6 separate regions of the Homo sapiens genome follow, and regions 1, 2, 3, 5 and 6 are each linked to region 4. The links are contacts of gene promoters, found by promoter capture Hi-C in blood cells and fetal thymus (Javierre and others, 2016). All regions are on one chromosome and are shown on one strand. The core of a region is centred on a gene start or on the middle of the fragment in contact, and the rest is flanking DNA. Distances in the headings are between cores, read along the strand shown. Region 1 holds the start of RUSF1 (RUS family member 1). Region 2 has its middle 2.7 kb from the start of AHSP. Region 3 overlaps ZNF267 (zinc finger protein 267). Region 4 holds the start of KRABD5 (KRAB domain containing 5). Region 5 overlaps ZNF267 (zinc finger protein 267). Region 6 overlaps LINC02190 (long intergenic non-protein coding RNA 2190).

Region 1 (4,656 bases), core at 653-3,152, 200 kb before region 4:
TACGGCCAACAAGCCGGGCGCAGTGGCTCACGCCTATAATCCCAGCACTTTGGGAAGCTGAGGCGAATGGATCACCCGAAGTCAGGAGTTCGAGACCAGCCTGGCCAACATGGTGAAACTCTGTCTCTACTAAAAATACAAAAAATTAGCGGGGCAGGGTGGCACATGCCTGTAATCCCAGCTACTTGGGAAGCTGAGGCAGGAGAATCGCTTGAACCCGGGAGGAGGAGGCTGCAGTGAGCTGAGATTGTGCCACTGCACTCCTGCATCCCAGCCTGGGTGACAGTGAGACTACGAGTCTGGAAAAAAAAAAATAGAGATGGGGGTCTCCCTATGTTGCCCAGGATGCCTCAGCCTCCCAAAGTACGAGGATTAAAGGCGTGAGCCACCGTGCCCGGCCCAGTTTTCTCAGTCTTAATGGTAAAGGTGTAAACAGGAAGCTCCTGTTTTCTCAAAAAAATCCAGAGAGGCTCACAAGGGATGTGGCCAGACTGATGCTACGAATGGAAAGCGCTTTTCCTTAGATCTATTAGGTTGGCTCAAATGTAATTGCGGGTTTTCCATTACCTTTAATGGCAATAACGACAAAGAAACCCCGCAATTACTTTTGCACCAGCCTAATAAATATCCCCTGCGAGCAGTAGTGAAAGACAAAGGACAGTGGCAAAAGCCATGGGGCCTCCTCGTGTAGAACATGTAACAATTTCCCTTTTCTGTTCTATTTCCCTCTCTGGGTGGCATGGTACCAAACTGTATTTTTTTTCCTTAAACAATTTTTTAAAAGCTGTACATATTCAGCAGATAGTCACTCTATTATTTACAGCATCATCTGGTATCCCAGAGCATACACAATACCTTCCATTCTTTCCAGGCTCTCCTCTCTCCTTCTCAGGACCAACTATATCTTTTTTTTCTGGAGCTCACCAATTTCCCCTATCCTGGGCAGCTGGCAGTTTTATTCCATCAATTGCATTCTTATGCAATCTTCCACAAAGAGAATAGGGATAAAGGGGAGGGGACGGGATTTGGGATCCAGATGATTGAGACTCAGAAGTCTGTGTGGGGAATGGAGTGCGGCTGCTAGGCTGGTGAGTGGGATGAGGGTCTTCCAGATGTGGGAAGTAAGACTGGGTTACAAAGCACCACTCTAATCACTGGGGAGACCTGCCTGAATTCTACCTAATGGGGCACGAGTCCATACATATATACACATAAGAGCCCAGCGAAAGCAGGGCTGAAAGCAGCAATACGTGAGGCTCCAGGGGTGCAGCTCACCTTTCACGAGCCAGGTGGCCGTGGCAGCTGAAACAGTGGCTTTTGCGTTCCCCACCCCTATGCCCAGCAAGACTGCCTGGGTGGCTAGGGAGCCGGAGAGGCTGGAAGCAAACGCCTGGAGAAGAAAACAAGTAGGGTGAGAAGCGGGCGTAGGAGCGTGGCGGTCTAAGTGCCTTCATCTGTTCTTGTTCTTGGTGTATGAGGCATGTCAGACCCCCCGCCCCCCGGGCTCCGAGTCTCAGTCACCCGTCCATTATTGGGGAGGGAGGAGTGGCCTGCACTGTCCTCTGCCCCAGACGACCGAGCTGACCTGCACGGAATCCCACAGCTGGTAGGGCAAGTAGTCCGGGCTGACGCTATCAGGGAAGCCCTGAGGCAGGAACACGGCCTGGAGCCCGGAGAGGGGCGGTGAGGGGGCCCCGGAAGCCCCCACTTCGCCCGCATCTCGTCCTTCAGGTTTGACCGTGAAGGCCCTGGAGAGCCCCCACCAGCGCCAGCCCCCGACCTCCCACTGCAGGCTCCCGTCCGCGGCGGCGCGGCAGCCCCGTGCCTCCCCGGAGCCGAACTGCTCGGAACACAGCGGGGTCTCCAAACCCGCGTCGTCAGCCATGCCGAGCTTTTGGATCCCAGCCCCGCCCCTGCCGCACGGTGGACGTGGCAGGCGGCACTTCCGGCTGGGCTACCGCGGCTGCAGAGGGACATCTTTCAAGAACAGGCGCCGGCCTCGGCGTCCGCCGCGCAGTTAGGAAACTGACTGTCGCTCTCTCCGGCCTCGGCGCTGCTTCGGACGCCCCGGCACCGGCCCCCGTTGCTTTGTAGCATTCTGCAGCTGGGCTGCAGGCGCCGTGGGCCTCCGCCAGTTGTGTTCGAGACGCGGTTCGGCCACAGAAGTTTTAGCTTGTGACTTTTGGCAAGTCAGTGGCCCTCTCTGGGCCTCAGGTGCCTTTTTTGCTGTGAGACCAGCGACTGTATTTTTAACCCTGATTTTATCCCTAGATCTACCCAACACATAGTAGGTGCTCAAAAGATATTTATGAGTGAATGAATGCATCATGAGAAGAAATTGGACCAGATGAGGCCCTGTGAAGCTGCTTGGGTCTTTTTTTGTTCTTTTTTTTTTCTCTCTTCTGAGTGTCCCTGGCCTGGACTAGAAATTCTCCATCCTTCGGCCTTCTGCGAGACTGCAGGAACATTACTTTTGAAGGATGCTAAGGAATCCGAGGGATGAAAAAAATCAAGAGATTGCAATGATGTCACAAAACAAGGAAACAAGGCAGGAAGTTCTTGTGTGTTTTTTTGCGGGAGAGAGTCCATGAAATTGGGGGGAGTCCAAAGAGGGAGTGTTTCTGTCCTTGGAACTCACCTTTTCTTCTTTCCATTTCTCCTCTTCTCCTTCCCATCTAGTGCAGCATCTTCACTCCGAAGCAGAAATTTGCCAAAAAAGCATCCTCTTTTTATCAGAAAATAAAATATCCTGGTTTCTTAGCCTGGCATTCTTGGATCCCCACAGTTTGATCCCAACCGACAACTCCTTATTTGAAACTTCAGATTCTCCCAAACCGTCACCTTCCTCGTGGACTTAATCCTGGAAGGCCCTTCTACCCCACTTCGCCTTATCTCACACAAACACAGTCTCTCTCTGACTGAGATAAACTTGAACACTTCTTTTCTTTTCTTTTTTTTTTTCTTTAAATTTCGGGTTTCAAAATACAAATGGCCTAATCACAACATTTCTGTAATGTTGTCTAAATTCAGGTACTGGTTTGAATAGAGGACAAAAATAAAACAAGGTTTGAAGACTAAGTACTTTAAAAACATATTTATTTAAATAGAGGCAGGGCCTCCCTATGTTGCCCAGGCTGCTCTCAAACTCCTGGCCTCAAAAGTGATCCTTGGGCTGGGCGTGGTGGCTCACGCCTGTAATTCCAGCACTTTGGGAAGTCGAGCCAGGTGGATCACTTGAGGTCAGGAGTTTAAGACCAGCCTGGCCAACATGTTGAAACCCCATCTCTACTAAAAATACAAAAATTAGCTGGGCGTGGGGGTGGTGTGGCCATAATCCCAGCTATCCGGGAGGCGGAGGCAAGAAAATCGCTTGAACCGTGCAGTTGTCATTAACTCCGTGTTTGTTATCTCTTTTTTACCAATGGTTTGCCAGTTTCTTCTACAAATACCTGTTGCTACCTATGTGCTCATTGGGATAGTGAGCAAAAACAAACAAGGGTCTTGGTCTTTTGGAACTTATATTAGGGAAGGATATTGATCAAATCATACAAATAAATGCAAAGTTGGAACTATTTCAATTGCTGTAGAGGGGTACATGTTATTTAATATGAGGACTTTTAGAAGGAGAATTGAGCTAATCAGTGGAATCAAGGGAAACTTTTTTTTTTGAGATGGAGTCTCCCTCTGTCACCCAGGCTGGAGTGCAGTGGCACAGTCTTGGCTTACTGCAACCTCCACCTCCTGGGTTCAAGTGATTCACCTGCCTCACCCTCCGGAGTAGCTGGGGTTACAAGCATTCACCACCACACCCAGCTAATTTTTGTATTTTTAGTAGAGACGGGGTTTTGCCATGTTGGCCAGGCTGGTCTTGAACTCCTGGCCTCAACTCATCTGCTTGCCTCGCCTCCCAAAGTGCTGGGATTACAGGCATGAGCCACTGTGCCCGGCCAAGGGAAATTTTTTAACAAAAATTTAAGTTGGGGTCTCTCTGTGTTGCCCAGGCCTCCCGCCTCGGTCTTCCAAAATGCTAGGATTATAGGCATGAGCCGTTGAGGCCAGCTGGGAAACTTTTTTTTTGAGGAAGTGTGTATTTAGCTGAGATCTAGAGTAAGAGTTAACTTGATTATGATGGGAAAATAATTTTCTGGAAAGAAGGAGCAGCATGTCCTGAGTGGGGAGGGAGCATGGTACCTAACATCCAACAAAGGCCGGTGCAGCAGAAGTCTAGAGCACGAGGGGCATGGGGAAAGGGCTGCTAGGGAGTTAGGGGCCAAACTGCAGGACATTGTAGGCCAAGCTCTTCTTCATCCTTAGGGTTAAGATTTATTTTTTATTCTATCAGTCAATCAATCAATCGATCGATGAGACAGGGTCTTGCTCTGTCACCCAGGCTGGAGTGCAGTGGTGCAATCATAGCTCACTGCAGCCTCAAACTCCTGGGCTCAAGTGATCCTCTTGCCTCAGCCTCCCAAGTAGCTGGGACTACAGGCATGCACCACCATGCCTGGCCAACTTTTAAAATTTTCTGTAGAGATGGGATCTCACTATGTTGCCCAGGCTGGTCTCCAACTCCTGGCCTCAAGTGATCCTCCCACCTCGGCCTCCCAAAGCTCTTGAGATTAAAGAATATATTGGTATATGTTGGAGTGGCACTTT
Region 2 (4,958 bases), core at 561-3,060, 190 kb before region 4:
ATTTCTGTTTCATAAATATTTATTAAAATTTGAAACATTCACTTTGGTAAACCGCATTTTACTAAATATGTGTCTATATATGTTATATATATATATAAATTTCCTCTTGAATATATATGTCAGAGCTGTCTATCCATGTATTTATACAGAGAGAGAGTGAGACAGAGAGACCAACAGAAAGACACAGCACATGAGAGAAGTTGCAAGTAAGTAGAATGGGAGTGAACAAAATACAAGCACAAAAGCATGTGAGTTATCTTAGGATAAAGTTAAGTGGGGATAGTGGAATAGAAATACAAGTTCAAGAAGTAAAAGGCATGTTGTAAAACTCCCAGCTGCTAAGGAAAAACCTGTTTGGTTTTTAAAAAAATATATAGTGGTCAGGGCCAAATCACCACCCCATTAACATTGTGTTGGACACATTCAAAAGAGCGATGTGCGGTTTGTTTAAATGTGTTTGGATCCTGTCACAATTAAAAGCCTTTGCTATGATTTAAATGTATGAGGCAAAAATAAATGTCTACAAAACTTGTGTGGGAGTATACACAAAGATTCTTTAGAAGGATTGGATGAAAGAATTTGAAGACAGTTAAAGGAAAGAATCCCTAGCTGACATTACTTTTCCTCCTGAAACATGCAGTGGGGCTGCCCAGGCCTTTGTCTCCATTTGTTCTATTTACCTGTAGGAAAATAAGACTTGGTTCTCATCATAATTTTAGCAGTCATGACGTACATGGCCTCAAGGGAGTTCCAGAGGATGTTTTAGGCTCCAGGAGCCATTTAAGGGATGTTTCTTTCCAAAGAAAATGTTCATGTCATGAATTTTATTCCACTAACATAATCTGAACATACGGGTCTACCTTTAAATAATGGGCCAGATGACCCCTGTTTATCTAGGAGTGCAGTCTTCTGTCAGGGCAGATGTCCTTTCTACTGTGGAGAATTGCATTTTGAGACCCTATGAGTCTGAGCATATCTGTAAGGGGCTGCTGCTGTCTATTATTAGGGCGGCCTCTTTAGCTTTGGCTCTACACCATGTGGCTTGAAGATTTTCCTTGAATTTGACCTGAGCCCCTGACCCCACCCACATTGCTGGGGAGGAGGGGCCCGTTCTGGACTCTGGCACCTGTAACTCCTGACCCCCGGTCTTGCTTGCAGCGGAAAAGGAGAGGCAGAAGAGGGAGGTGCACACTCAGCCACTCTGGGCATCCTTCCTGGGTGGACTGGGCCCCCTGCAGGGCCTGCTCTCACCTACCCAGGAGCACAGCTGATCTCGGCTGGGTCTCCCTCAGCACACTCAGGATGTGTGGGGCAGGTGTCTGCGAGTCCCCGGGGGACTCAGGTTCCTGGCCAGTCTCACTGCCCCCTGCCCCAGCATTGAGACCCTCATGTGGCTGCAGATGTGGCTGATAGTGCCAATCAAGGGAGCCTCTGTCTTCCCAAACTTAAATTTCCCCTCCCATAACCTATAACTTCAGCCCCCTCCATTTTCTGAGCTAAGCTCCAATTAGTGAAAACAAAGTCAAGTGGGAGTCAGGGGACAGGAAAGTGGCCCAGGGGTGGGGCAGAAGAGGGGGAAGGGACAAGTCTCTCTCGAATGGATCCAGAGTGAGCTCCTCCCTCTTGCGAGTAGCCATGCTGCCAAGACGCTGACCTTCAGATGCGCAAGGCTCATGTCTCCTCCCCAGCCCTGGGACCCTCTGGAGGCTGCAGGTCCTGATTGCTGTGCCAGTCACAGCAGGAACAGGCCCCAAAAACGTCACATCTCCAGGAAATAAGACCAAGGTTCCACCTAACCAGTTCAGCTCTCACCTCCCTCCCAAAATGTTCACAGGGGAAACCATGGGCCAAACTATGTAACATGAAATCTACAACCTTTTTGCCCTGACTCCAACCTGGTACTGCCACGAGCAAGTCAGGGTTTTGCGTTGACTGAGTGGGATTTGGGTCATCAATTCCAATCAGATTTCTGGAGAAGGCTCTTCTTTCCCTGATGATTGAGGTCTTCATTGCAGTCCTCTCGGTGGAAGGAGAGGCCTTCCTGGAAGTCCAAACAGTTCTCTTTTCCTCCCTCTGGCTAATTTCTTGTTCAGCTGAAGCAGAGCCTGCCTCGATGAGGGAGTTCCTATTAGGTTTCTTAATTTTTAAGAGACATCACCAGAAGTGAATTCCTCTGTAAATCAGCAGTGCTTTATTTTTCTGTTGCAGAATGAGTTTGTGATCCTGGTTTTCTACAATTCTTTAGCAAATGTGTTTTTGTAATCTCACGTTCAACCCTTCCTTTATTGATGTATCTAGCATGCTGAAAGGGAATCAGTTTCCCCTGCTATTCTCAAGACACTGGTTGAGGGAGGAGACTTCAATTCTTCACTACATCTCACTAATTTTACTCTGCAATTCATTATAGTCCAGGTAGTTAGATTAGTTCCAACTGTGCCAGGAAATTTTGAGGAATGAACAAAATTAGATTTTTTTTTCCTTTTTTTTTTAAAAGATGGGGTCTCACTATGTTGCCCAGGCTGGTCTTGAACCCTTGGGCTCAGACGATCCTGCCGTCTCTGCCTCTTACAGGCATGAGCCACTGTGCGTGGCTTCAATGTTAGATGTGTTCTTGGCAGCATGGTCTTCTAAGCCATCTGAGGCAGCACCATCTCTTTTGAGTTTCCTGGCATGTACCAGAGACCTTCCTGAAACTTTTCCTTAATGAGCTTTGGAAGGGCATTGGGATCTTGATCTTTCCCATCTGGTAATGAATTATTTTTAAAGAAATATTTAAGAAAAATTATTTAGAAGTGAAAGGATGTAGGAGACAGTCGGCCTGGTGTGATGTGAGAAAGACTGGACCTGGTGGTCATTGCTGGCTTTCAAGCTGGAAAGGGACCAGGAGTGAAAGAATGTGGGTTCTTCTATAGACTAGAAGAGGAAAGAAAAAGAACTCTTTTTCAGAGATTCCAAGGGGAACACAGCCTAGAGGACAACTTAATTTTAGCCTAGTGAGTCTCATTTTAGATTTCTGACCTCTAAGTCTGTAAGATAATAAATTTATTTATTTATTTATTTATTTAGAGACAAGGTCTCACTCTGTCACCCAGGCTGGAGTGCAGTGGCGTGATCTTCGCTCACTGCGGCCTCTTCCTCCTGGGTTCAAGCGATTCTCCTGCCTCAGCCTCCCAAGTAGCTGGGATTACAGGTGCATGCCACCATGTCTGGCTAATTTTTGTATTTTTAGTAGAGAGGGGGTTTCGCCATGTTAGCCAGGATGGTCTCGAACTCCTGACCTCAAGTGATCTGCCTGCCTTGACCTCCCAAAGTGCTGGGATCACAGATGGGAGCCACCGTGCCTGGCCGGTAACACATACTTTCCACCCTATATAAATGAAAACATGTTCACATGGAAACCTGTACACAAATGTTTATAGCAACTCTATTCACACTTGCCCCAAAGTACAAACAATCCAGATGTCCTTCCGTGGCTGAATGAACAAACTACAGTGCATCCATACAATGCAATGTGTCCACTGACACTTGTGACAACTTGGATGGAGCTCAAGAACATCATGCTGACCAAAAAAAGTCAGTCTCAAAGGTTACATACTGTATGATTCCATTTATATGACATCCTGAAAAAGGCTTAACTGTAGTGATGAACAGATAAGTGGTTGCCAGAAGTTATGGGTGAGGGTAGGGGTGGCTACAAAAGGGTAACGTGAAGGAGTGGTTTTTGGGTGACAGAAACATTCTGTATCTTAACTGCGTTTGTAGTTACACAAATCTGTTATAAAATTAATAAACTAGGCCAGATGCGGTAGCTCACACCTGTAATCCCAGCACTTTGGGAGGCCAAGGTGGGTCGATCACTTGAGGTCAGGAGTTCGAGACTAGCCTGGCCAACATGGTGAAACCCCATCTCTACTAAAATACAAAAATTAGCTAGGCGTGGTGATGCACGCCTGTAATCCCAGCTACTTGGGAGGCTGAGGCAGGAGAATCGCCTGAACCTGGGAGGTAAAGTTTGCAGTGAGCTGAGATCGCATCACTGCACTCCAGCCTGGGCCACAGAGGGAGACTCCCTCTCAAAAAAAAAAAATTTAATATACTGTACACCAAAAGGAAGTCAGTTTTGCTGTATATTGATTAAAAAATGCTACAACCAAAAAGGCAAATCAACAAAGCTTTATGAGTGTATAGGCACCTATGAATGTTGGGTTTTGAATGGAAAAAAAAAGTGACAGGAAATATACAATGTTTAATGCTGGTTACTTTGGAGGGGGCAAAAATGATTCAGTTTTTCAGTGTACGTTTTTGTATTGTTTTAATTATTTCAATTAGTATATAGTGATTTTGAAATTTGAGAAACATCTACTGAAAATGGAAAATATCTGGAAAAATATTTAAAAAGAGGAAAAAGAGTATTTCTGCTTTATTGGGTACCTGTTGACAGGGTAGTAAACAAGACAAATCCATCTCCATTCTTTTTTTTCTTTTGAGATGGAGTCTCGCCCTGTCACCCAGGCTGGAGTGCTGTGGTGTGATCTTGGCTCACTGCAACCTCTGCCTCCTGGGTTCAAGCGATTTTCGTGCCTCAGCCTCCCAAGTAGCTGAGACTACAGGTGCCCGCCACCACGCCCGGCTATTTATCTCCATTCTTATGGAGCACAGCGTGGTGGAGTTCAGTCCACACGCTTACAGGTGGCTTATCTGCAAAATGTGTCTAAAAAGAAATTTTATAGGATAAATATTTTGTACATGTTTGAAACAGTGCTTGGCACAAATGAATAAATGTAATGCAAGCTGCTATTAATACATCATCTCCGAATTGGGAGAATCATTGCGATCACATCGTTGTGATTACACAAAAGCCTCTGTCATGTAATAGGGCTCAGTAAACGTCAATTTCCATAGCATTTCGAGCCTGGATACTGAAATATGGGGCAAAAAGCAGGAACATGCCCCTGGTT
Region 3 (5,040 bases), core at 5-2,504, 170 kb after region 4:
GATTAGAGTATTGGGCGTAAGGGACTCTGTGCTGTGTCTGCTTCCTCTAGCTGAGTGCTATTGATAATGGGTCTAGGAGGAGCAACATCAGCATTGACAGGGGACTTGTTAAAGAAGCCAGTTCATGGAAACTTTCCAAACCTGCAGAATCACATTACTTAGAGGGGGCCCAGAATACCAAATGATATGTATGCGTATTGAACCTTGAGAGGCAATGCTTAGCTAAGTGATTCTCAGCCCAGGCTTCTAAGTAGGGTCACATAACCAGTTTGAAGATCTATGGTCACCTGTATCTTCCCCCACAGATTGTTTTTTTATGATTATATTAAGATTATGATTTACTGTTCCCCTCCGCCCATATCACAGCAATGATTATGGGCCCATCTGTGCATTAGCACTGGTACCAATTTGTCTTATTACAGACGATGCTAACTTCATTCACTTGGTGCAGGTGCTCTCTGTCAGATTCCTTCGCTATAAAGTTAATCATTTTTCTCTTTGTAATGAGTATCTAGGAGGGAGGATTTACTGAGTGATGTCTATAAACCATCACATTTAATCCAGAGACTCCCATTTCTTTTTGGTTTCCCTTTGCTTGTAGCTTTCTTTGCAGAGTAAAGGCTCTCACATTTGTTGACAGGAGATAACAGCTTTTAAGACTGGAAGTTCTGAAGCAGGTCTCAGTTCTGTAGGTTTCCATTTTATTTCATCTCATGTCACAAGCATATGCTTATTTATTCTCTATATTTTCAGAGAAAGAACAAGAATTAACATATAACAAATATGTCTATTGTCTTAAAATTCTAAAATATATAATAGCACATAGAATAAACATAACAAAAACTTGAAAAAAAATACCAGACTCAGAAACAAGAGCCTTTACTTTATTTCATTGTATGTATTGGTCTTTATAAAGGCATCACAAAAAAGGCATCACCCACAAAGAGTTTTATAGTTTTTATACAATTTAAAATATTTTTAAATTTTATTTACACAGAAATATTATCTTACTTTTAGTGTGTATATAGTTACCATTATGTGCACATATGCACATAAAATGAAAGCATTATTCGATCACTATTGTGTGGCTGCTTTCTTGTTTTCGTTACTCAGTTACGAAATCTTCTCTGAACATTCTGTTAAGGTTGTCTCTGTATATTGGCCGGTATGTCCCTTTGAGATAAATTCTAAATCAGATAAACTGAGGCAAAATACAAACTACTATGTAGCAAATATTTGGAAAATAATTTTTATATAAGAGGAAGAATATAATTTTTCTCAGATTATTTATTGGGTTTTATATATGTAAACAACTTTTAGGATGATATCTGATATATTGTGCATGTTCAAAAAGGATTACTACCATTCTAGCTGTTATAACTTGTAAATTTCATAAAACTCTCAGTTTCACATCATGCCTGAATTCTTTCCTCAGTGTTCGACCTCTCTGCTATTCAAAAGTGGCTTTGGGGCCTGAAGCATTAACACTACTGGTGAACTTGTTAGACATGCAGATACTCAGCCAGCCATGGTGGCTCATGCCTGTAGCCTTAGCTACTCAGGAGGCTGAAACAGGAGGATCGCCTGAGCCCAGGAGGTTGAGGCTGCAGTGAGCCAAGATTCAACCACTGCACTCCAGCCTGGGTGGCAGAGCGAGACCCTGTGTCAAAATTAAAAATTAAAAAATATGGAAATGCAGAAACTCAAAATCTAGATCTCCTGAATCAGACTCTGCCTTTGAAGAAGATCTCCAGTTTATTGTTGTATACTATACAATTTGAGAAGTATGCCTCTAAGTCACCATGACTTTTGCACCTGAGAATTATACACAGCTGATTCTGGATGATGTAAATATAGCACCCAAAAATGTATATTCCTGTGTTGATGCCTTAGTTTTATATTTTACATTTGATATAAATATCTACACTAGTTTTGTGGATTTTATGTTATTTTCTTTCCACAGAGTTTGAGACTACATTAGAAAATATTACTGTGTTAAAAATGATCTTACTGAATAATTCAGGTCACTCATATATGTCAGAACCAATAACTGTCATTTCATCTTGGGACAAATGAAGAACTCTGCCATGGCCACATGGTCAGTGTATTCTTTATTTTTATTTCAGGGACTGTTGACATTCAGGGATGTGGCCGTAGAATTCTCTTTGGAGGAGTGGGAACACCTGGAACCAGCTCAGAAGAATTTGTATCAGGATGTGATGTTAGAAAACTACAGAAACCTGGTCTCTCTGGGTGAGGATAACTTGCCTTCGGAATATCTAATAACTAAGAGTTTTATTTTCTTTTCAGAATGTCCCTTGGGATCTTGTGCTTTGTATGAGTTAGTTTTAGATTCTTGTTTTCAGGAAAAAAATAGGGGTTTTGTTGAAGTAGAAAAAATTTCATAATGTTTGATTTTGACATTCGCCTTTTTATTTGAGGTGATGTACAAGTTTCACTCTAGTCGTGATTCTAGAAATTGGTTGACATAAACTATTGTTGCTTACACTTTAAAATCCAATTTTTTTTGTTTGTTTTTGATTCAGTCAGATTTGCAGAAGCTCAGGATCCCCAGATTTAAAATGCTTCCTAAATATTCTAAAGAAGCTGGTAGGAAACAATATTTTGAGAAATACTTTTCAAGAATCTTCTATAATGTCTTATTTTTTCTACTGAGCACAGTACTAAGTTAGAAATTAATCCTGTCCTGTGGGGCCAAAAAAAAGTATAAAAATAAAAAATAAAAAGAACCCTCATTAAGAGTCATGTGAATTTTTCCAATAAAACAGGTCTTGTTGTCTCTAAGCCGGACCTGATCACCTTTTTGGAACAAAGGAAAGAGCCTTGGAATGTGAAGAGTGAGGAGACAGTAGCCATCCAGCCAGGTAGGTGGGAGCGAATGAAGTAGATGACATGGGCGAGAGGTCCAGAAGTCAAGAAAGAACCAGACCTTGAAGTGTGGATTGGGAAGTTCTCCAGTGGAAATGATTTTTGAGACACCTGGCTTTATTTCTTTCCCTTGCTGTCAAAGAGGGACATCTTCTGTCCCATGCTCTTGAATTATCTGATGATTCTCCTTCCTCTTCTGTGATCCGCCATCATATTCACAGTGACAGCCAAAGTGCTCCCCTTGGCCTGTGAGGGCCTGCTTGATCTGACTGTTCTTCCATTGATTTGGGGGCTCTGGGAAAGTCTGTGCATGTTTCTACCTCTATGTGAAACCACTTCTAAAGTTCTGGTTTTGCCTCATGTCAGAAGTGTGTGAGGAGAGTGATGGACAGTGGAATTTTTTTCAGAAGTCTCAGGAATTCTGTGGATAGATGTCACATATTTTCTGATACATTAATTTTTAATCGTATTGTGGTTTCCAAGGTGATCCTATAGAAATTAAGATGCAGTAATTTTATGAAAATACAAGGCATCTTCCCAAATCTAAGAAAATCTAATCTTATGTTTCACTTCAACTTCTCATTTTTTCTCACCTGAACTAAGATGAGAAATTTAAACTCTATAGGCACAAATTCCACAAATGTAAAATAGTTTAATGTGTATTACTTATTATATAGACTTCTTATCTAAATTTTTGTCTATGGGGAGCTTAGAACATTGTCCAGTATATAATAAACTCTAAACTGTTGCCTTGTATCTTAATAACTATCATTCTATAATTTTGTCTGGTTCAGTATGAAGCTTACTGAGAATGTGTCCTTTAGTTCCTTTTTTTTCTTTCTAGACATATGATTCTTTCCACAATATAAATATTATCTATTTAAAGGTTACATCTTGATGATTTGATATACATACACATTGTGTAATGACTAACACAGCAAAGTTAATTACCACATCAGTCATCTCACATTAGATGCCAATTTTTGTGTGTGTGGTGAGAACTCTTAAGATGTACACTGTTAACAAATCTCAAGTATACTGTAGTGCAGGGGTCTATAGTACTGGTCTGTGGCCTGTGAGGAATCCGATCACACAGCAGGAGGTGTGACCATTGGGCCAGCAAGCATTACTGCCTGATCGCTGCCTCCTCTCAGATCAGCAGCAGCATTTGATTCTCATAGGAGTGTGAACCCTTTTGTGAACTGTGCATGCAAAAGATCTAGGTTGTGTGCTTTTTATGAGAATCTATCTAATGCCTGATGATCTGAGGTAAAACAGCTTCATCCCAAAACCACCCCCGACTCGACCTCCATCCATGGAAAAATTGTTTTCCATAAAACTGGTCCCTGCTGCTGAAAAGGTTGGGTACTGCTACTGTAGAGTATCATTAACTATATTTACAATGCTGTACATTAGATATTCAGAATTTATCTTGTAAATGAAAGTTTGTACTTGTTACCATAATGTCTACCTTGTTTATTCATCCATGTTGTCAGAAATTGCAGTACCTTCTTCATTATGTCTGAATAATATTCTATATATTGTGAATAATTGGCTATGAACATAGGGGTACAGATATATCTTTGACATATGATTTTATTTCCTTTGGTTATACAATTAGAAGTAGCATTGAAGGTTCATATAATACTATTTTTAATTTTTTTTGAGGTGCCTTCGTGCCATTTTTCATAATGGCTGAATCAATTTACATTTCCACTGACAGTGTACAAGGGTTTTCTTTTCTCCACACTCTGACTCTTAATATTTCTTGACTCTGACAGCAGTCATTCTAACAAGTGTGAATATTTATTTATTGACTCTTTGACAGCAGTTATACTAACAAGTGTGAGATGATATCTTATTATGGTTTTACTTGCATTTTCCTGATGAATAATAACATTGAGAACCTTTTTATAAACTTGTTTGCCACTTCCATGTCATATTTTGAGAAATGTCTACTTGAGTCCTTTGCAAATTTTTGTCAGATTTACTTTTTTTTTTTTTTTTGCTATCGAATTGTGTGAGATTCTTAATATTTTGGATATAAAACTCTTATCAGATCTATTTTCTCCCAGTCCCTGGGTCGCTTTTTCATGTTCTGTGTTTGCTGTGCATACACTTTTTTGTTTCATTTAATGCTACTTGTTTTTA
Region 4 (4,761 bases), core at 1,744-4,243:
CCAGTCTGACACCTACCTCCTCTCCCACCTTCTACTCACCCAGAAGACTAGGAGAATCTGAAAGCAGAGGTGGTGCAGCGTCACTAGCTCCAGGAATCCAGAAAAACAGGGATAGGGCATTCTGGGAGGTTGAAGTGGGTGGATCACTTGAGCTCAAGAGTTGGAGATCAGTCTAGGAAACACGATGAAACCCCATCTACACAAAGCAAAAATTAGCTTGGCGTGGTGGCGCGACCTGTAGTCCCAGCTACTCAGCAGGCTGAGGTGGAGGATCGCTTGAGCCTGAGAGGTCCAGGCTGCAGTGAGCCATGATTGTGCCACTGCACTCCAGCCTGGGTGATAGAGTGAGACCCTGTCTCAAAAAAACAAAACCAAAAAAACAGAGCTAGGGCTGGGGACCCCTATGGCCACTGAATCTGAGCCCCTGGGGGCAGAGGAACTGAGCTCCCAGCCCTGTGGCTGCCAAGGATCCTTTTTCCTTGAGCTTGCAGGGATTGAGAGAGAGAGAGTCAGCGGCCCTGATGTTAGCGATGCAGACTCCAGGAGAAGGGGGCATGCTCGCAGTTTAGAGGAAGTGAGCCCCTCTTCCACGTTCCACTCCCACCATCCTCCTGGGACCCCAGCCTGCATGCCCCCCAAAAGATGCTTTTGCACTGATTCAACAAAGCCTAAAGATGCAAAGGCCTAATTGAAGACCTGTGAATGGCATGTACGGTCCTCAGTTCCCAGCTGAGGGGCCACTCGGGCTCCCCATATTCCCCTCAGCCTCTCCATCTTCCAACAGGGGTGTGGAGTGCATCCATGGCCATGAGTATTGATCTGTCCCAGCCTGTGCATTGCTCCGAGGCAGTTCTGAGTGGATGATGTACAGATGGGATTCCTCAGCTCATTTGCGTGGTTGACGTTATGGCTGCTGGTTTTACTGCCACAACTCCCAGGCCCAACCTGGCTTAATGTCTAAGTTTTAAGCCAAAAAAGATGGGGAGCAGAGCTTTGTGGCAGGGCTGGGGGTTGGGGTCCACTTTAGTTTTGTGGCAGGATGAAGGCTGCAGTGGTTTTATTAATCATGATTGGCCTGGCCGTAGCTCCAGGCTGAGAGGGACAGGTTTGTCAGTGGTGGTCCCCCAGATGTCCCTGTGCCCAGCCCTGGCCTGTCTGCCCTCAGGCCCAGCAGGAGGCGCTACCACAGGCTCTGACTGGCGTCCCTACTCCCTGTACCCCAGATGGACAGAACCTTCGGGTCTACAGTCGGAATATATCATTCTCCCCATTTTAACCTGAGCTGCCTGACACACGGAGGGTGTGCTGGGTAAGGGGCCTAGGGAGCCAGGGTTGAATCATGGATCCTGGGGAAAGGTTGCAGACACAGGAAGGGTTGTCACCTCTCTGTGGAGCCCTGCTGCTTACCACACAGCACCTTCTGCAGAGACTAGCTCTGAGGGTGGCAGGGGACCCCACAGGCCATGGCCACTCCCTCTCTGCACCTGTCCGTGCCTGCTGTGGAAGCCTGGACTGGGGGAGGAGATTGCTACCCTGTGAGCCTGAGGGAGCCACGTCCAGCTGTGACCTCTACCTGGGGCTTTACAGAGAGTTGTTTATGGGTAACAGACACCTTGTTTCAGAGGGAATGGGCATGAGCTGGCAAGTGAAGCACCCCCACAGCTTATCAGGAACTTTTTCTCATTTTTAAACCATCATGTCTTCATTTCACATTGGAATAAAGTGAGGTTTTGGAACCTGCTGCCCCAGTCTCTGGATTGTGAGGGCTGTTGTCAAACAGGTTACTAGGAGAGGAATATGTATAAATTAGCTCAAATTCAAGGTTATGCTTGTAATGTCACCTGAGTGGGAAGTAAGAGGGTGGAGTCACAGGCACTCAGCTGGGATTTACCTGGCCTCGTCACTAGACTAATGGGATTGTGGCACAGGTGAACATCCCGTCATTGGAGAAGAAAGGCTGGATTGAAGGCCAGGTGGGGGAGGGGTGCTAGGCTGTGGGGTCAGGCCCTGGGCATGCTGGACCTGTTAGGTCACTGAACATCTGACTGGGCACCTGCCCAGATTTGTCCCTTCAGTTGAGGTGGGATTGGCAGCACTCCCCAGAAGGCGTGCAGTGCCGGGAGAGTGGAGGAGGGTCTGACGTTTGCTATCCTGTGGTAGGTTTTAGAGCTAACTAGATGCTTGTGGAGAGCTAATGACATGGGAAGAAGGCAGCCCACCTTGATGGACCGGAGGGTTAGAGCCTGCGATGTGAGAAGCGGGTGTGTGGAGGTGGCCTGTCTACAAGAGGGCAAGTTTAAGGCCCATTGCAGTGGCACTATCTCAGCTCACTGCAGCTGGTGGCTGCCAGGCCATCCCTCTCCAGAGCAGGGAGGCCCTCAGCCTTATGTATAATTGAATGCCTTTTGGGATGCTTGGATAGTCCTTTATGTCTTGGAAATTCAGAAAAGAAAAAAAAAATTACAATCCTCCTGTCTGTTAGTTTCCCTGAGCCAACTGGATAAAAGATGTCCCTGACCCCAAGATTTTAAGTGACACCCAAGGGAAGCCACCGTTACCTTGGCTGTTGAAGCCTCCTGCATGCTCCCCAAAAACCCCAGCAGTTTCCTCTGCAGTCCCACAGTTATGTCCTGAGCAGTGGGGTACCGTGTGATGAGAGGTGCTAAGGATGGGATGAGGGTCTTTCCTGTGTTATTAGAACGGTTAAAAAGTTGTTTTAAAGGTGCCCAAATGCCCTCCTTCTTAAACTTAATTAGCTAATAAGATGCCTTATACAAGCAAAACCAGGTACGGGAAAGCAAGTGCATTTCAAGTCCAAGCTCACCCCTTAAATTAGCTGTAATACCCTCAGCAGGTGGCCCCACCTCAATGAGCCTGTCTCCCATTCAAAAAGCAGAACGAGTGAGAGGGCGGGGCCTGGAGCTTTACCCAATCAGTGGCGTCGGAGTGGAAATCCTCCAATCGGGAGTAGCCGGAGAGCAGGGGCGGCTTCCGGGATTTGGCGGTGGCCTTTGTTGGCTGCAGTAAGAGCTCAGTCTCTTCACCAGGGGCTCCCAGTCCTTCCATCTGGGAGGCCAAGGCGGCTTCGCGTTCTGAGAATAGACAGAACCTCTGTTACTCTGTGACCGGCAGGCACCGGGAGATCCGTAGCTCAGACGCCAGGACATCCCGGAAGCTGGGAAATGGTGAATGTGCCAGGTCGGGGGTCCCCAGAAGAGGGAGAGGGGCGGTCGGAAGCGGCGGGAACCCTCTTTGAGGTTAGCTTCGGGGTCTGGGCCCTGAGTCCCCGCGGACGCAACTCGGCCCTTGGTCCCCTCCGCCGCAAGATGGCGGCCGGGCCGGCAGCCGGGACCCCGCGCGTCCGGTCCCCTCCCGACCCCGCAGAGCGACCTCTGCCATGGCCGGAGCCGTCTTTGGGTCGCCGCAGCCCGGCGTCTCCCGAGATTGTGCGGTGAGAACGTGAGGGTCTTAGGGGAAATCCCGGGTCGGCGTGTGATTCGTGTGTGGGAAGATACTGTGCCCCGTGGTGTCCCAGTCTCCTTTTTCCTCTTACAAATTAAGGGGAGTCACCCTTAAAGCGTTAAAGGGTTGATTTAGGTAAACAGCGATTGGTGAAATGGGAAGCCTGCCGCCGTGGTTTGTGGTTTAGGGTCCTCTGGAGCAGCGATTTCAAAATCCCAGGGCTCAGCTTAGGAATGCTGCTGGGGAAAAGAAATAGGGACAATCTCTCTTCCACTTTGGCTGTAGAAAACGAATACATTTCCACAGAAAGTGTGCTAGATTAATTGGTCAATTACAAACATTCATTAAAATATCAGGTCCTCTCTTTTGCAGTGGAGGATTTGTGACAGTGGATATCTGTGTTCCATATTCTACTGCTATCTGGATGTCCGACTTTAATGCCAAATGTTATGAGACAGGACTTGGCACCTCCTAGAAGTGTTCACATATACTAAATGATCTGCTATTATGGAAATAATTAAATGACATGTTTCTTGCTCGAAAGAGGTATTTTGGCCTTACCTGTTGAAGTATAAAGTGTAAGTGCCTTACAGTTTCCTTCCTTTCTATAAAAACTGTTTTGAGTGATTTTGCTATTTTCCTGAAACCTGTTAGGTCACTGAACATCTGACTGGCTGGGCACCTGCTCCTGTCCCTTCAGTTGAGGTAGGATTGGCAGCACTCCCCAGAAGGCGTGCAGTGCCAGGAGAGTGGAGGAAGGTCTGACGTTTGCTATCCTGGGGTAGGTTTTAGAGCTCGCTAGATGCTTGTGGAGAGCTGATGAGATGGGAAGAAGGCACCCCACCTCGATGGACCTGAAAGAGAGAGCCTGCGAATTGAGAAGCGGGTGTGTGGAATAACCCTGACTAGGCATAGAAGACCTCAGTCTTATTTGAGCCTGCAAAAGGAGGTCATTGAAGGCCCAGTTAGTTCTTCCTGGGGAGCGCCCCCTTCAGGTGTCCCTGAGGTTCACAGCAGCCATGGAGGGAGCCCTTTGTTACTGGGAGAAGCTGCAGAGTTCTGGAAAGCAGGGGATTCACAGGCGGATGTGGTCGAGGTTGGGCTGGAAGGGAGATTGGGAAGCTCTTTCTGAGGGTGGAATTGTTAGTGTCCTGGGGCTGTTTCTTGACTTGGTCAAATAAAACATCTGGATATAGGTAAGAAGTGCCTTAATTGTAAAGGAGTATTGCAAGAGGAGGAAAGCACCAACTGTAAGATATTTGTGGATCTCACAGTTGAAGCAGAAAAGGCCTTTCTTTC
Region 5 (4,457 bases), core at 1,711-4,210, 190 kb after region 4:
CACACTGTTTTGATTACTATAGCTTTGTAATATGTTTTAAAATCAGAAAGTAGATGTCTCCTTTTTTTCCCCCCAAGATTGTTTGGCTATTTCTGATTTCTTGAAATTCCATAGATATTTTAGAATATTTTAATACTTCTGCAAAGAGATCTATTGATATTTTGATAGAGAGTACATTGAATCTGTAAATCACCTTGGATAGTATTGACATCTTAAGAATATTGAGTCTTCAAACTCTTAAACAAGTTTGTGTGTTTGAGACTGTTTAATTTCTACATATTTGTAGACCTGCCAGTTTTCTTTTCATTTTTAACTTAAAGCTATTCTGTTGTAGTCAAAAATAATACTTTGTGTGATTTCCATCTGTTTAAATTTGTTAAGACATTTTATGGCTTAAAAAGTTGTCTATCTGGAATAATGTACCATATGTGATTAAAGACATTGTGTATTTTGCTGTTGTTGGGTGACAAGTTATGTATATATGTTAAGTCTAATTGTCTTTAGTGTTCAAGTCTTCTGTTTCCTTATTGATCTTCTTTCTGTTTTTGGTTTTGTTCGTTTTTGCATTACTGAAAGTGGAGTATGGAAGTCTTCTACTATTATTGTGCTGCTAGCTACTTGCTTCAATTCTGTGAAAGGTCACAATGTATATATGGGAGCTGTGACATTAGGTGCATATATGCTAATGCTTGTTATAGCTTTCTGGTCAGTGGACACTATTATTATTATTATATAATGCCCTTTCTTGTATTTTGTGACAGTTTTTGATGTAATGTATATTTTGTCTGATAGTATTTTACTTTGCATTTAATTTCTTTTTTCCATGCTTTCATGTTCAGCCCATGTGTGTTTTTGTATCTAAAGTGGGTCTTTTATTGAAAGCATAGAGTCGGATCTTGTTTATTGAATTTCAGCCAAATTTTGTCTTGTGAATGATTTAATTTTTTTTATGTACAAAGTAATTACTGAAAGGGAATGACATTGCTTTTTGTTTTTTATTTTAGATTTTGTAGCTTTTTTGTTTCTGTTTTCCTCTTGCTGTCTTCCTTGGTGTTTTATTGATTTTTTTTTATAGTGGCATATTTTGATTCCTTTCTCATTTCTTTTTGTGTATCTACTATAGGTATTTTTGTGGTTACCATAGATATTACACAAAACATCTTAAAATTATTAACAATTTGTATTAACCTGATAACTTTAGTAGCATACAAAAATCCTGCCTCTCTATGTCCCCTTATTGTATTTTATTGAGGTCACAAATTATATGCTTTTTATTGTGAATCCATTAACACAGATTTACGGTTATTTTTAAGTGTTGTCTTTTCACACACATAGGCTCAAAATAAAGGGATGGTGGAAGATCTGCCAAGCAGATGGAAAGCAAAAAAAGCAGGGGTTGCAATCCTGGTCTCTGATAAAACAGACTTTAAACCAACAAAGGTCAAAAGAGACAAGGCCATTACATAATGGTAAAGGGATCAATTCCGCAAGAAGAGCTAACTATCCTAAATATATATACACCCAATACAGGAGCACCCAGATTCATAAAGCAAGTTCTTAGAGACCTACAAAGAGACTTAGACTCACACACAATAATAATGGGAGACTTTAACACCCCACTGTCAATATTAGATCAAGGAGACAGAAAATTAACAAGGATATCTAGGACTTGAAGTCAGCTCTGGACCAAGCAGACCTAATAGACATCTACAGAACTCTCCAACCCAAGTCAACAGAATATACATTCTTCTTAGCACCACATTGCACTTATTCTAAAATTGACCACATAATTGGAAGTAAAACACTCTTCAGCAAATGTAAAAGAACAGAAATCACAACAAACTGTCTCTCAGACCACAGTGCAATCAAATTAGAACTCAGGGTTAAGACTCTCACTCAAAACTGCACAACTACATGGAAACTGAACAACCTGCTCCTGAATGACTACTGGGTAAATAACCAAATGAAGGCAGAAATAAAGATGTTCTTTGAAACCAATGAGAACAAAGACACAACATACCAGAATCTCTGGGACACATTTAAAGCAGTGTGTAGGTGGAAATTTATAGCACTAAATGCCCACAAGAGAAAGCAGGAGAGATCTAAAAGCGACACCCTAACATCACGATTAAAAGAACTAGAGAAGCAAGAGGAAAAAATCTTAAAATTACATAGTGAAAGGAAAATGTGAGAGATGTGCCTAACTGTGGTGTTTAGGAACAGGAAGTCTGCATACCTGTATGTATTTCAAAGTTAACAGGCTCTCTAATGCCTAGTTATTGGTTATACAGATTGCATAATGCCACTCAATATTTTTATTTAAAATACTTTATAAGCATATTATAAATGATATACTCATATGAGTGTATTTTCTAATAACCTAGATTGTAATATAAAACAAAAATGAATCAAGAAGTAAATTGCAATTAGGACTTCTTAATTACCTTTTTAGAAATTAATCTAGCTGCCAGTTGCATTTTAATTGAACCCTTGGTGTCATCCATATATATATACACACACACACACATACACACACACAATGTGTTTATTTATATATATATATAAACTGTGTGTGTAGTGTATTCATTTCCACAAGATACTGAAAATTTTGTGTCATCTTTGTATCCTATATTTCCATGTAATTAGTAATAATACAGAATTGTATCAGGTAAATTAAAAAAAAAAGAGAGCCATACAGTCACACACACGAGAAAGTGTTTGTCTTTTCAAATGTATAGCAGAATTAAAAGTATTCTATATACTATTATTACAATAATACCGAATACTTTATTTGTGTATATTATTACCTTAACCAGAAAACTTTATACTGTTACATGATTTTGTGTTCCTCCCTACCATCATGTTATTTTTCAATATAAAGAACTGACTCCTTTAGCATTTCTTGTATGACAGGTCTAATGGATATAAATTCATTTAGCTTTTATTAAGAATTCTTTATTTCTTTATTTTTTTTCCTGAAACGGAGTCTCGCTCTGCCACCCAGGCTGGAGTGTGGTGGCGAGATCTTGGCTCACTGCAGGCTCCGCCTCCTGGGTTCACGCCATTCTCCTGCCTCAGCCTCTTGAGTAGCTGGGACTACAGGTGCCTGCCACCACGCCCAGCTATTTTTTTGTATTTTTAGTAGAGATGGGGTTTCACTGCATTAGCTAGGATGGTCTTGATCTCCTGACCTCGTGATCCACCCGTCTTGGCCTCCCAAAGTGCTGGGATTACAAGCATGAGTCACTGTGCCCGGCCCCAAGAATTCTTTCTTTTTTTTTTTTTTTTTAATTTTTAACTTATTTTTATTTTTTTATTTATTTTATTATTATATTTTAAGTTTTAGGGTACATGTGCACAACGTGCAGATTTGTTACATTTGTATACATGTGCCATGTTGGTGTGCTGCACCCATTAACTCGTCATTTAGCATTAGGTATATCTTCTAATGCTATCCCTCTCCTCTCCCCCCACCCCACAACGGGCCCCAGTGTGTGATGTTCCCCTTCCTGTGTCCATGTGTTCTCTTTGTTCAATTCCCACCTATGAGTGAGAACATGCGGTGTTTCGTTTTTTGTCCTTGGGATGGTTTGCTGAGAATGATGGTTTCCAGCTTCATCCATGTCCCTACAAAGGACATGAACTCATCATTTTTTATGGCTGCATAGTATTCCATGGTGTATATGTGCCACATTTTCTTAATCCAGTCTATCATTGTTGGACATTTGGGTTGGTTCCAAGTCTTTGCTATTGTGAATACTGCCACAATAAACATACATGTGCATGTGTCTTTAGAGCAGCATGATTTATAATCCTTTGGGTATATACCCAGTAATGGGATGGCTGGGTCAAATGGTATTTCTAGTTCTAGATCCCTGAGGAATCGCCACACCAACTTTCACAATGGTTGAACTAGTTTACAGTCCCACCAACAGTGTAAAAGTGTTCCTATTTCTCCACATCCTCTCCAGCACTTGTTTCCTGACTTTTTAATGATCGCCATTCTAACTGGTGTGAGATGGTATCTCATTGTGGTTTTGATTTGCATTTCTCTGATGGCCAGTGATGATGAGCATTTTTTCATGTGTCTTTTGGCTGCATAAATGTCTTCTTTTGAGAAGTGTCTGTTCATATCCTTCACCCACTTTTTGATGGGGTTGTTTTTTTCTTGTAAATTTGTTTGAGTTCATTGTAGATTCTGGATATTAGCCCTTTGTCAGATGAGTAGGTTGCAAAAATTTTCTCCCATTCTGTAGGTTGCCTGTTCACTCTGATGGTGGTTTCCTTTGCTGTGCAGAAGCTCTTTCATTTAATTAGATCCCATTTGTCAATTTTGGCTTTTGTTGCCATTGCTTTTGGTGTTTTAGACAGGAAGTCCTTGCCCATGCCTATGTCCTGAATGGTATTACCTAGGTTTTCTTCTAGGGTTCTTAAGTTTTAGGTCTAATATGTAAGTT
Region 6 (5,051 bases), core at 300-2,799, 170 kb before region 4:
ACAAGGCATGTTAAACAGTCCAACAATTTGCCAGACTTATATAGGGCAAGCAACTGAACCTACTTGTAAAAAATTTTCACAGCGTTACATTATTCATTATATGGATGATATACTTTGTGTTGCCACCACTCTAGAAATATTACTCCAATGTTATGATCACTGGATTGGAGCACAGTGTTGGAGCATAGTGTGCCATGGCCACCCTATGTTCAACTGGTCTAAACAAAATGGTCAGATGGTAGAAATGGTAAGAAGTACAGCAAGAGTTCCTATTATATTGAAACATGGCAGTATAGTGGCACCTCAACCTCAGATGATATGGCCCGCTATAGGAGCTAAACATAAGGATTTGTGGAAACTATTAATGGTTCTTAGTAAGATCAAAATTTGGGAAAGAATAAAAAAGGATCTAGAAGGACACTCTACAAATTTGTCTTTGGATATTGCAAAATTAAAAGAACAAATATTTAAAGCATCCCAGGCACACCTGACCGTAATGCCAGGAACTGCAGTGCTTGAAGGAGCTGCAGACGGATTAGCAGCTATTAACCCATTAAAATAGATAAAGACACTTGGAGGCTCTGTGATTTCAATGGTGATTGTGCTTTTAATCTGTGTTGTTTGTTTTTGTGTAGTCTGCAGATGTGGATCCCGACTCCTGTGAGAAGTAGCTCACCGTGATAAAGCCACCTTTGCTTTTATTGCCCTGCAAAAACAAGAAGGGGGACATGCTGGGGATATCCCCCAAATCTGGCCATAAACTGGCCCCAAAAGTGGCCATAAACAAAATCTGCAGCACTGTGATTTGTTTGCGATGGCCATGACACCCATGCTGAAGGTTGTGGGTTCACCGGAATGAGGGCAAGGAACACCTGGCCCACCCAGGGTGGAAAACCTCTTAAAGGCATTCCTAAACCACAAACAATGGCAGGAGTGATCTGTGCCTTAAGGACATGTTCCTGCTGCAGATAACTAGCCAGAGCCTATCCCTTTGTTTCAGCCCATCCCTTTGTTTCCCATAAGGAATACTTTTAGTTAATCTATAATCTATAGAAACAATGTTTATCACTGGCTTGCTGTCAATAAATATTTGGGTAACTCTCTGTTCAGGGCTCTCAGCTCTGAAGGCTGTGAGTCCCCTGATTTCCCACTCCACATGCTATATTTCTGTGTGTGTGTCTTTAATTCATCTAACCCCACTGGGTTAGGGTCTCCCCCGACTGAGCTGGTCTTGGCATTTAACCAACCAGAATTTTGAAAGTAATGTTTATATATTTAAAAAGTTTTTTAAAATCAAACCCAATTTTAAAAATTAACTTGATAAAAATTTTGTGATGGAGAAAGATGTAGATGATTTTTAAACCTAATTTGTTTTGGTCAGTATTTAGAAGACTGCTGTGTGCACTTGAGCCCCTTCTTCACTGGACATTGCTGGTTATTCTGGACACTATGAGAATGAAGGATAGAAGCCATGTACTTGGCTATTGGCTCTTGTGGAAATGTAAAAAAATGTGAGGGAAATACCTCCTGCTTTTCCTCTTCTCTTATGTTTCGTAGGGGTAATAACCCTGTCCCCATATAACAGGCACAGTTACCAATAGCGACCTCATCAGCCTCACAGACGGGTCCCTTTCTGGCCCTCAAACCCCATTCTGGCCTCACCTCATCCTCCCAACAATGTCACCTACCATGTTCCTCCCACCTAAGGTATTCCAAGCTCATGTTCATTGTGGTCATGTTTTTTAAAAAAACTTTAGGCAAATTAAGTTGAACAGGATTTAATTGAGCAAAGAATGACTTGCAAACCAGGCAGCTCCCTTAACCAGAATAGGTTCAGAGAGACTCCATGCTGCTGTGTGGTTGGAGAGGATTTATGGACAGAATCAAGAAAGTGACATACAGAAAAAAGTACAGAAGTGAGCTGCAGAAACAGCTGCATTGGGTATAGCTTGGCATTTATCTTATTTGAACATGATGTGAACAATTGGCCGTCTTTGATTGGCCAAAGCTCAATGATTGGTACAAGAGCAGGCCATAGTCTATCTATACATCCAGGTAAGTTACAGTTAACTAGGTAGAGAGAAACTTTTAGGCCAAACTTAAAATATATAAGAAGACAGGTTTAGGCTAAACTTAATTTAACAATCTCCTCTTTTGGTCAAACTCTCAATTTTGTGTGTGACCAAAACTTAGGGCTTTAGTGCTACTCTGAGTCACTATCATGTTGGGCTTCTGGTCTCAGCAAATACATTCATAGATTGTGTTGTTTTCATGATTGTAAAAAGTAAAGTAGAGGTTCCTCTTCAAAGATTTTCCTCCCCATTTAATTAGGAATAAATAGTAACTTCCCTTAGAAGCAAAATTTATTCAAAGACCTGTGCTAACATTCTTAAATATCTGCTAGCCATGATAAAGAAATCAATGTACTTTGTGTTCTTAGCTCCCACAATTTAGCCTAAATATTTGCCCTGGCATGCTTATACTGGTTCAAGCAAGCATTAAGTCATAGCCTGTTCCTCTTCCTTATTTGAAGGTGTTTTTACCTTTCTTAGTATTCCACAAGTTACTCCCTCCTTCCTTTGTTCTCCTCTGCCTTTGACTCTTTTAAAAAGTTCTAAATTGCTAGCCAATTGGGACAAATACAGAATGTAAGGCCCCATTCCAGCCAGTGGAAACCAGGCACAGCAGTAGGGTGGACACGTCAGGTTATAAATAACCCTGTGTCCTTTGTTCAGTGTACTCTCTTGGCAAAACTGCTGGCAAGTGTAACCTTTCTGCAGGAAGTAAAAATGGCCTTGCTGAGTAAATTAAATTTATGTTCAAGTGCTATTTCTTTATAGCACCAGGGAACAAGCATTTCAAACAATGAGCATACATTTCTTTGAGTTTTTGTCATTCCAGTCAAAGAGATCATTTGCCATTCCATAGATGGCTGCAAACAAACATTTAATACTTTTGAGAGAATACAGAATACTTGGGAGATTACTGTTGTGAGTATCCGGAGGATAATACCAAGAGTTTGGAGTATGCTCCTTAGCCAGGGTCCAAACCAAACCAATTAAAATAAAATAGATCAAGGAGTGAGCTAGATAGAGTACTTGTTTTAACCCAGCAGGCTGTTTGTTAATTCCCTACAACTAAATCTCTCTAATACCTATGTATTCAACCATGTGCAGATTCTTCCACGTTCAGCCATTAGGTCATCTAGAGTTATTCTATTATCTAGCACAACTATAGCAACGGAACTTGAAGAAGACTGCTGTACAACCAAAGCCTTTGCAGTAGAAGCTGCTACAGAGCCCACTATGAGGGACAAATGTCTAATCATTGCCTCATTTATATTTACTCCAAACTATAGAAAAAGAGACCTAAGAAATGATGCCCATCGACAAGCGTGAAGGCCTCCTGGCAATATTCTCTTCACCCTATGCTGTAGGTTAAGAGGAGTGAACCAATGTTCTGTCTCTGGCTGATTATGGAGCAACAAAACTACCATTAAAATTCCTCATCCACATTGGCCCTTCATCTTTTATCCCTCAAGGCATAAGGTTGGCCATTATAAAATTGGCTTCAAAATACCCCACAAATAGGCTGGGTGTGGTGGCTCAGGCCTGTAATCCCAGCACTTTGGGAGGCTGAGGCAGGTGAATCACCTGAGGTCAGGAGTTTGAGACCAGCCTGGCCAACATGGTGAAACCCTATCTCTACTGAAAATACAAAAAATTAGCTGGGTGTGGTGGTAGGCGCCTGTAATTCCAGCTACTTGGGAGGTTGAGGCAGGAGAATTGCTTGAACCCAGATGGCAGAGGTTGCAGTGAGCCGAGATCACACCACTGCAACTCCAGCCTGGGCAACAGAGTAAGACTCTGTCTCAAAAACAAAACAAGGCTGAGCGTGGTGGCTCACGTCTGTAATCCCAGCACTTTGGGAGGCCGAGGCTGTCGGATCGCAAGGTCAGGAGTTCGAGACTAGCCTGACCAACATGGTGAAACCCCGTCTCTACTAAAAATACAAAAATTAGCTGGGCATGGTGGTGTGCCCCTGTAATCCCAGGTGCTTGGAAGGGTGAGGCCAGAGAATCGCTTGAAACTGGGAGGGTAGAGGTTGCAGTGAGCCAAGATCGCGCCACTGCACTCCACCCTGGGTGACAGGGTGGACTCTATCTCAAAAAAAGAGAAAACACAACAGAAAACAAAATGTCCCACAAATAGCCGGGCACGGTGGCTCACGCCTGTAATCCCAGCACTTTGGGAGGCTGAGGTGGGCGGATCATGAGGTCAGGAGATCGAGACCATCCTGGCTAACATGGTGAAACCCCGTCTCTACTAAAAATACAAAAAAATTAGCTGGGCGTGGTGGCGGGCGCCTGTAGTCCCAGCTACTCGGGAGGCTGAGGCAGGAGAATGGCGTGAACCCGGGAGGCGGAGCTTGCAGTGAGCCGAGATGCGCCACTGCACTCCAGACTGGGCCAGAGCGAGACTCTGTCTCAAAAAAAAAAAAAAAAAAAAAGAAAATGTCTAAGTTGGAAACAACGGTAAGTGGACAATAGTGGATTTTATTTGCAAAAGTGAAACAGAGTTTATGTTTCCACGCAGGGTTCTCTCACTTTGAATGTAATTATCAGACACTGAAAAATGACAAATGGCCTCCAGGGATTTTTCAATAGGCATGATCTTCTTATCTCAGATCATAGTTGGATTCCTGGGGAATTTCTTTCTTCTTTACCACTATAGTTTCCTTTGTTTCACCAGAGGTATGTTATGGTCCACAGATCTGATTCTCAAGCACCTGACCATAGCCAACTCCTAGGTTATACTCTAAAGGAATCCCACAAACAATGGCTGCTTTTGGGTCGAAAGATTCCCTCAGTGATATTGGATGCAAACTTGTGTTTTATGTTCACAGAGTGGGCAGGGCTGTGTGCGTTGGCAATGCCTGCCTCCTGAGTGTCTTCCAGGTCATCACCATCAGCCCCAGCGAATTCAGGTGGGCACAGCTTAAACTACATGCTCCCAGATACATCAGGTCCTTCAACATCCTGGTCCTGTGCT

Evidence for each region. The method cuts DNA at HindIII sites, captures the fragments that hold promoters and counts their contacts. A CHiCAGO score of 5 or more calls a contact.
Region 1: a contact is called between the fragment with the promoter of RUSF1 here and the fragment with the promoter of KRABD5 in region 4, in 9 of 17 cell types (M0 macrophages, naive CD4 T cells, megakaryocytes and 6 more). The highest score is 7.8, in M0 macrophages.
Region 2: a contact is called between a fragment that was not itself captured here and the fragment with the promoter of KRABD5 in region 4, in 9 of 17 cell types (neutrophils, M2 macrophages, naive CD8 T cells and 6 more). The highest score is 11.9, in neutrophils.
Region 3: a contact is called between a fragment that was not itself captured here and the fragment with the promoter of KRABD5 in region 4, in 13 of 17 cell types (activated CD4 T cells, neutrophils, total CD4 T cells and 10 more). The highest score is 8.9, in activated CD4 T cells.
Region 5: a contact is called between a fragment that was not itself captured here and the fragment with the promoter of KRABD5 in region 4, in 3 of 17 cell types (M2 macrophages, total CD8 T cells and neutrophils). The highest score is 5.7, in M2 macrophages.
Region 6: a contact is called between a fragment that was not itself captured here and the fragment with the promoter of KRABD5 in region 4, in 2 of 17 cell types (neutrophils and M2 macrophages). The highest score is 9.4, in neutrophils.

What each region holds. Positions count from the first base shown.
Region 1 is chr16:31,506,489-31,511,144 of GRCh38, forward strand. RUSF1 (RUS family member 1) reads right to left here and starts at 1,903. Exons shown (of 13, transcript NM_022744.4): 1 at 1,586-1,903; 2 at 1,276-1,390. The coding sequence starts at 1,885. RUSF1-DT (RUSF1 divergent transcript) reads left to right here and starts at 1,976. Exons shown (of 2, transcript NR_186401.1): 1 at 1,976-2,548; 2 at 2,685-3,078. RefSeq lists enhancers at 889-1,604, 1,605-2,319, 1,884-2,453 and silencers at 1,614-1,673, 1,734-1,783. The HindIII fragment of the contact is 29,640 bases long and covers 1-4,656 here.
Region 2 is chr16:31,522,738-31,527,695 of GRCh38, forward strand. No RefSeq gene overlaps it. Among named protein-coding and RNA genes, the nearest start is that of AHSP, 2.7 kb to the right of the region's middle. The HindIII fragment of the contact is 4,720 bases long and covers 1-4,170 here.
Region 3 is chr16:31,882,372-31,887,411 of GRCh38, forward strand. ZNF267 (zinc finger protein 267) reads left to right here. Exons shown (of 4, transcript NM_003414.6): 2 at 2,127-2,253; 3 at 2,790-2,885. Among named protein-coding and RNA genes, the nearest start is that of ZNF267, 11 kb to the left of the region's middle. The HindIII fragment of the contact is 4,868 bases long and covers 1-3,688 here.
Region 4 is chr16:31,710,251-31,715,011 of GRCh38, forward strand. It overlaps KRABD5 (KRAB domain containing 5), which reads left to right and starts at 2,994. Exons shown (of 5, transcript NM_001130913.2): 1 at 2,994-3,185. The coding sequence starts at 3,183. RefSeq lists enhancers at 3,161-3,280, 4,405-4,454 and a silencer at 3,371-3,430. The HindIII fragment of the contact is 15,701 bases long and covers 1-4,761 here.
Region 5 is chr16:31,897,486-31,901,942 of GRCh38, forward strand. The region is part of intron 3 of ZNF267 (zinc finger protein 267); the gene reads left to right. Among named protein-coding and RNA genes, the nearest start is that of ZNF267, 26 kb to the left of the region's middle. The HindIII fragment of the contact is 9,198 bases long and covers 1-4,457 here.
Region 6 is chr16:31,542,164-31,547,214 of GRCh38, forward strand. LINC02190 (long intergenic non-protein coding RNA 2190) reads right to left here. Exons shown (of 2, transcript NR_146571.1): 2 at 4,535-5,051. It also overlaps the pseudogene VN1R64P. Among named protein-coding and RNA genes, the nearest start is that of LINC02190, 8.9 kb to the right of the region's middle. The HindIII fragment of the contact is 8,775 bases long and covers 1-5,051 here.